2 separate regions of the Homo sapiens genome follow, and region 1 is linked to region 2. Evidence: promoter capture Hi-C in 16 types of primary human blood cells and fetal thymus (Javierre and others, 2016). All regions are on one chromosome and are shown on one strand. Each heading gives the region's core, a stretch centred on a gene start or on the middle of the fragment in contact. The rest is flanking DNA. Distances are from core to core; before and after follow the strand shown.

Region 1 (3,293 bases), core at 468-2,967, 170 kb before region 2:
CAAGCTGGGTGTGGTTACTCTGATTGCCAGCTGCTCTGAGTGGTCTGACCTGCAGAGATCTTTGCTGGTTGATCATTTTGAGATCACTGAGTCCCTAGGATTAAAGAATGTAAGCAGTTCACTAAGATTCTAACTGATCTGTAAAACCCAAAACCCTCTGGAACTGGTGAAAAGGGGACCCACTTAAGACAATAGGATGGGGAATAATGGAGTTATGATCTCTCACTGAATTTCCTGTCCTGGGTTTGTTCACAGACTTACAGCCCCATGAATGGGGTGAAGGCAAGTTTACTTAAGCAAGATTTAGAAATACCTCCTTATATATTTCTTTCTTTCTTTCTTTCTTTCTTTCTTTCTTTCTTTCTTTCTTTCTTTTTTTTTTTTTTTTTTTTTTTTTACAGAGTCTCACTCTGTCACCCAGGCTGGAGTGCAGTGGCATGATTCTGGCTCACTGCAACCTCCACCTCCCGGGTTCAAGCAATTGTCTTGCCTCGGCCTCCTGAGTAGCTGGGATTACAAGTGCCCACCACCATGCCCGGCTAATTTTTGTGTTTTTAGTAGAGACAGGGCTTCATCATGTTGGCCAGGCTGGTCTAGAAATCCTGACCTCAAGTGATCTGCCCACCTCGGCCTCCCAAAGTGCTGGGATTGCAGGTATGAGCCACAGTGCCCTGCCTCCCTTTGTATTCCTTATAGGGTCCCCCAGAAAGGCCTGTGGTCATTTTCCAGGATAGCTATTGTAGGTTTAATTGTGTCTCCTCCAAAAGATATGTTGAAGTTCTGGTCCCCAGTACCTGTGAAATAGGTGACCTTATTTTGAAATAGTTTATTTGCAATCAGGTTAAGGTGAGGTCATACTGGTTTAGCCCTAATCCAATGATGGTCTCCTTAGAAGAAGCTTTTTTTTCTTTTCTTTTCTTTCTTTTTCTAACCTTATAAAAAAGGAGAAATTTGGACACAGAGGGAACACCATGTGAAGATGGAGAATAAATTTCCGTGGTTTCAGGCTACCTTGTGTATAATATTTTGTTATGGCAGCCCTAGGAAACAGATCCAGTAACTGTGACCTTGGGAGTGTTGGACATTGGCTCTAATGCTAATCTTTGGAGTTGTAGTTGGCACAGTGATTAATGAATCACTCAGAGTGAATGAAGGCTTATGGAGTCAAGTGATAAATTGACTTTTGATTTTTTTTCTGAGACAGGGTCTTGCTATGTTGCCCAGGGTGGAGTGCAGTGGCATGATCATAACCCACTACAGCCTCGAACTCCTGTACTGAAGCCATCCCCTTGTCTCAGCCTCCTGATTAGCTGGAACTACAGGCGTGTGCCACCATGGCTAGCTACCTTTTTTTTTTCTTTTTAAATTTTTGTAAAGACAGGGATCTCACCATGTTGCCTAGGCTGGTCTCGAACTCTGGGCTCAAGTGATCCTCCTGCCTTGGCCTCCCAAAGTGCTAGGATTGCAGGTGTGAGCCACTGTGCCTGGCTGCAACTTTTGATTTCAGTCTACCTTACTATCATCCCAGTTCTTAAACCCATTTTCCCATCATTTCTTTAGTTCCCGAGTGTATAGTTAGACTAGATGCATTCAGCAAATGGCAGAATCCCCATGTTTCTCCAGTCCATGGAATATGTGGTTGAAAGGGTCGAGCAAAAGCACTAAACCTTCCTCCCTATTTAAATTATAAACAAAGAGCAATAATGCCTTGCTGGGGGAAATGCGAGATTAGTGCAACCATCAAAGATCTGAAAATTTAGAGGTGAAAATTCTTGTTACTTATCCATTTAATTTACCTGTTTGGCTCACAAAGAAGTCAGAAGGGCCTTTGAGAATGACGGTGGATGATTGAAAGTTTAAGACAGGTGATGACTCCAGTTGCATTGCTCTTGCAGATGTGGTTTCTCCACTAGAGCAAATCAACAGCGCCTCTCCCACCTGCGATGAAGTTATTAACTTGCAAATGTTTTTTCCCTATTTCAATAAGCAAAGAAGACCAGAGGTAATTTTGTTTATCCTGGCAGGGGCAGAAGTACATTTTCACTATTTTGCTTCAAGAACTATGTCAGCTCTCTGCCTCTGTGCCACAATTTAGTACACAGGGACTTTGATAATCTTAAAGTCCCATAACACGTTACACTGGCGAACTATGATTATGATAAAGTGCTGATAAATCCTAAATAGCAGAAAGTACTCGGTACCCTGAATGCCTTAATGAGTTGTTGTCGTCAGCGTTTTGGATTTAAGCCATTCTAGTAGGTACATAGTGATATCTCATTTATTGTTTTAATTTGCAATTCCCTGATGACATAATGTTGAGCATCTTTCATGTATTTATTTGCTGTCTGCACATATCCTTTGGTGAGGTGTCTGTTCCTATCTTTTGCTAATTTTTAAATCGGGTGATTGTTTCTTTATTGTCAAGTTTGAAAAGTTCTTGTATATTTTGGACACCAGTCCTTTATATGTGTTTTACAAAGATTTTATCCCAGTTCGTGGTTTGTCTTCATTCTCTCAAAAGCATCTTTTGCAGAATAGAAGCTTTTAATTTTAGTAAAGTCTAACATATGTTTCTTCTTTCATGAATTCTGCTTTTGGTGTTGTATTAAAAAAAATCACCGTCTTCATTTATATAGTAGTAAGTAAACTTTAAGAATAGTAAAATAAATAAATAAGTACATAGAAAATCGTCACCAAACCCAAGGTCATCTAGATTTTGTCTTATGTTATCTTCTAGGAGTTTTATAGTTTTGCATTCAATTTTTTTTTTTTTTTTTTGAGACGGAGTCTTGCTTTGTCTCCAGGCTGGGGTGCAGTGGCGTGATCTCAGCTCACTGCAACCTTTGCCTACCAGGTTCAAGCAATTCTGCCTCAGCCATCTGAGTAGCTGGGACTACAGTTGCACACCGCCACACCCAGCTAATTTTTGTATTTTGAGTAGAGATGGGGTTTCATCATATTGGCCAGGGTGGTCTTGATTTCCTGACTTCGTGATCCTCCTGCCTCGGCCTCCCAAAGTGCTGGGATTACAGGCATGAACCACTACGCCCAGCTAATTTTGTATTTTTAGTAGAGACGGGGTTTCTCCATGTTGGTCAGGCTGGTCTCGAACTCCCAACCTCAGGTGATCCGCCCGCCTCGGCCTCCCAAAGTGCTGGGATTACAGGTGTGAGCTACCACGCCCAGTGTCCCATTTTTTAAAATTGTTATTAAAAAAATTTTTTTAATTGTTATTTTAAAAAATTTTTAAATTGTTATTTAAAAAAATTAAAAAAAAATTTTTTTAAATTTTT
Region 2 (3,796 bases), core at 158-2,657:
TCCCACATGGCAAGATCACCTCACAGCATGTGAGACCAGACACAGCAAAATCCTGAGACTGACAGACTCAGGCCGCTGAACTCCAAAAAGAGTCAAAATAACAGTACTGTAAAAATGTTGGGAAACTATCCTTCACTATATAAATAAAGAAATTGGTCAGACGCGGTGGCTCACGCCTGTAATCCCAGTACTTTGGGAGGCCAAGGCGGGTGGATCAGGAGGTCAAGAGATCGAGACCATCCTGACCAACAACTAAAAATACAAAAATTAGCTGGGTGTGGTGGCCCGCACCTGTAGTCCCAGCTACTTGGGAGGCTAAGGCAGGAGAATAGCTTGAACCCGGGAGGCGGAGGTTGCAGTGGGCCGAGATTGCGCCACTGCACTCCAGCTTGGCGACAGAGCAAGACTCCATCTCAGAAATAAATAAATAAATAAATAAATAAATAAATAAATAAATAAATAAATAAATTGAGGTCAAGCTGGCATTAGAACCGAGTCAGGTTGTTCCTGACTCTGGCACCTTTGGTGGCGGGGGGTAGGGGGGAGCGGTTTGGCAACTTCTCTAAACCATCTGGCGGTTGCCCTTAAAACACCCCATAATTTCCGTTTCCTGGAGATCTCAGGAAAGAGGAATTGGACCAGGCAGAATATGAGAAACATAAGGGGACCATGCTATAATATTAGATGTTTAGTCCAATATCCCCATTGTACAGATGGATAAAATGATGCCCAGAGAGGGGAAGCGGATCTATGGTACGAGATTATACAACTCCGAGGTGATGAGGTCTCTAGGGCAACACCCTGCCCCTGTAACCAGATGATGTCTGAGTCCCTCCAAGACTTAGGCTCTAAGGATCTAAACCTATAAGTACCTCCCACCCTCCTAAGATACGAAGTTAGGACAATCTTCCCGCCTCTCCCTTCCTCAAACCCAGATCTCATAATCACCCTTGTTGGACGGACTCTTGCTGTAGCAATGAACCACCAGCGCTGCGGCCAGGGCGCACATGCCCAGTCCGGCCCTGCTGGGGACCCCGTTCCAGCTGTCCTGTCCTGGGAGTGTTTCTTCGGGACCAGGAAGGCGTCCCCAAGTGGCAGCCGCGAGGCATTTGGTATCGAAGCGTCCTCCCTGGCGCCCCCCGGTGGCTGCCCCACGTCCGGAGAACAAGGCCGGCGATGTTCCAGGGCGCCCCCCGGTGGCTACCCTCAGCCACTGCGGCTCCCCGAGACTCCCAGTAGTCACATTCCGGCCGGAAGCACCTCCATGGCCCCGGAGCGTTGGGGACCTGAGCAGCCGGAGGAGTAGCCGTGGCGCCAGTGCTTTTCTCCTCAACACCAGGGACCCCAGCATCTTGACAGCTGCTTCGATAACCCCGTGGTGCCGGCCCCTGTGCTGACCACGTCCAACATGGCTGCCGCGGCGCGTTCGAAGACGCCGCGAACAGGGTGGAGTTGCGCACTACCTCACGGGAGAGGTAGTCCACAGCCCTAAGCCTTTCCCCAGCTGGAGAATAAATAAACTACGTTTCCCAGAAGGCTGTGGGATTGCGTCACAATGACTGCGGGATTATAGAAGCCCGGGGCATATTGGGAAATAGAGTTCGGGTGAAGGGGCGTGGCGATTAGAGTTAAAGATTAGAATCCCAAGACTTCTTTCCTAGTTTAGTTGAAGCACACGACACACTTTTTTTTTTTTTTTTTTTTTGAGACGGAGTCTCGCTCTGTCTCACAGGCCGGAGTGCCGTGGCGCGATCTCGGCTCACTGCAACCTTCGTCTCCTGTGTTCAAGCAATTCTCCTACCTCAGTCTCCCGAGTAGCTGGGATTACAGGCGCCCGCCACCATGCCCAGCTAATTTTTGTATTTTTAGTGGAAACGGGGTTTCACCACGTTGGCCAGGCTGGTCTCTAACTCCTGACCTCAGGCGATCCGCCCGCCTCGGCCTCCCAAAATGCTGGGGTTACAAGCGTGAGCCACCGCGCCCGGCCCACAATTTTTGACTGGTGTAAATTACCCAAGAATCTTCAGCAGAGGCATATTATGAAACTTATGCTTATTTAGTTTAGCCTATCTCTTTTTTCAGCCTGGGCGGCCTTTCAAAAAGATGTTTAGGGTAACTACTGCACCTGAGATAGGAATACATTTTATTTGAAGAGTTGACTTCCGGTCTTTTTTTTTTTTTTTTTTTTGAGACAGAATCTCACTCTGCCGCCCAAACTGGAGTGCAGTGGCGCCATCTCGGCTCACTGCAACCTCCGTCTCCCTGGTCCAAGCGATTCTCCCACCTCAGCCTACCGAGTAGCTGGGATTACAGGCACGCACCACCACGCTTGGCTAATTTTTGTATTTTTAGTAGTAGAGACGGGGTTTCACCATGTTGGCCAGGCTGGTCTCCAACTCCTGACCTCAAGCGACCCACCTGCCTCAGCCTCCCTAAGTACTGGGATTACTGGCGTGAGCCACTGCGCCTGGCCCTGATTGTGTTATTTTTAAAGGGCTTTCAAGTGGGTCATCTCATCTGATCCTCATGGCAGCTGTGTGTGAGAAGCTGGGCAAGAACTGTTATTCCCGTCTACAGTGAAGGGAATTGAGGCTCAAAGGTGAAAAGATTTGCCAGTAAATCACCTGGAGTAAAGTAATGCTCAGGTCTTCTGATTTTGAGCATATAGTTTCCATTAACACCTGCACTCCCATCCCGCCCCCTCTTTTCCAAACTGAACCCATAGGTAGGCAAAGGAGGAAGTTCTTCTTTGTGCCAGTTCTGTTTCTTCCAAGTCTTGTACGTCTGCTCAGACTTCACATGATCAGAGTCTTCCCTGACCATTCTGGTTAAAATAGTAATCCTACGCACCCCATCCTAATTTTCCTTCACAGCATTTATCACCATCTGACATACTACATTTTTATTGTCTTTCTCCACTACAGCATGAGCCCCATGAGACAAGGACTTTGTTTTTTCACTTTTATATCACTAGCACTCAGAACAATGTCTGGAACAAAAGAGGCACTCAGTTTTTTTATTTTTATGTATTTATTTATTTATTGAAGCAGAGTCTTGCTCTGTCGCCCAGGCTGCAGTGCAGTGGCACGATCTCAGCTCACTGCAAGCTCAGCCTCCTGTGTTCACGCCATTCTTCTGCCTCAGCCTCCCGAGTAGCTGGGACTACAGGCTCCCGCCACCATGCTCGGCTAATTTTTTTGTATTTTTAGTAGAGACGGGGTTTCACTGTATTAGTCAGGATGGTCTCGATCTCCTGACCTCGTGATCCACCTGCCTCGGCCTCCTAAAGTGCTGGGATTACAGGTGTGAGCCACCGCGCCCGGCCTGAGGCACTCAAATATTTTTTTCAGTGAATGGATTACTCTCACCTTATTAGTGTTGGAGAGTACTTGAGCTTTGGCATTCAGGCAGACGTGGATTTTAATTTTGACTCTTGCATTTATATGGGTGACCTTGGACAAACTCCCTTTACCTCTCTGGTAGTTAATTACTCATTGTTGAAGATATCAATTCCTGCCTTCAAGATGATTGCTTGTATTAAATAAGATAATATGTAGAAAGCCCCTAACACTGTCCCTGGCTCACAGTAGGTCTTCAAGAAATGGTAGCTATCATTGTATATTCTCTGCTCTGTGTATTCTACACTTCCTCCAGGCAAAGATGGAACTTCTCATTTCCACATCCGTTAGTAAGACAGGAATGAATGAGCGACTTTTTTGGTTTTTTTTGAGACAGGGTCACGCTCTGTTACACAGGCTGGAGTACAGTTGTTACTGCAACCTGAAACCTCCTGGGC

What was found. The method cuts DNA at HindIII sites, captures the fragments that hold promoters and counts their contacts. A CHiCAGO score of 5 or more calls a contact.
Region 1: a contact is called between a fragment that was not itself captured here and the fragment with the promoter of CLPB in region 2, in 1 of 17 cell types (M1 macrophages). The highest score is 6.1, in M1 macrophages.

Annotation. Positions count from the first base shown.
Region 1 is chr11:72,258,608-72,261,900 of GRCh38, forward strand. No RefSeq gene overlaps it. Among named protein-coding and RNA genes, the nearest start is that of PHOX2A, 16 kb to the left of the region's middle. The HindIII fragment of the contact is 1,643 bases long and covers 897-2,539 here.
Region 2 is chr11:72,433,124-72,436,919 of GRCh38, forward strand. It overlaps CLPB (ClpB family mitochondrial disaggregase), which reads right to left and starts at 1,408. Exons shown (of 16, transcript NM_001258392.3): 1 at 949-1,408. The coding sequence starts at 1,351. RefSeq lists enhancers at 1,030-1,489, 1,553-2,359 and a silencer at 3,771-3,796. The HindIII fragment of the contact is 13,854 bases long and covers 1-3,796 here.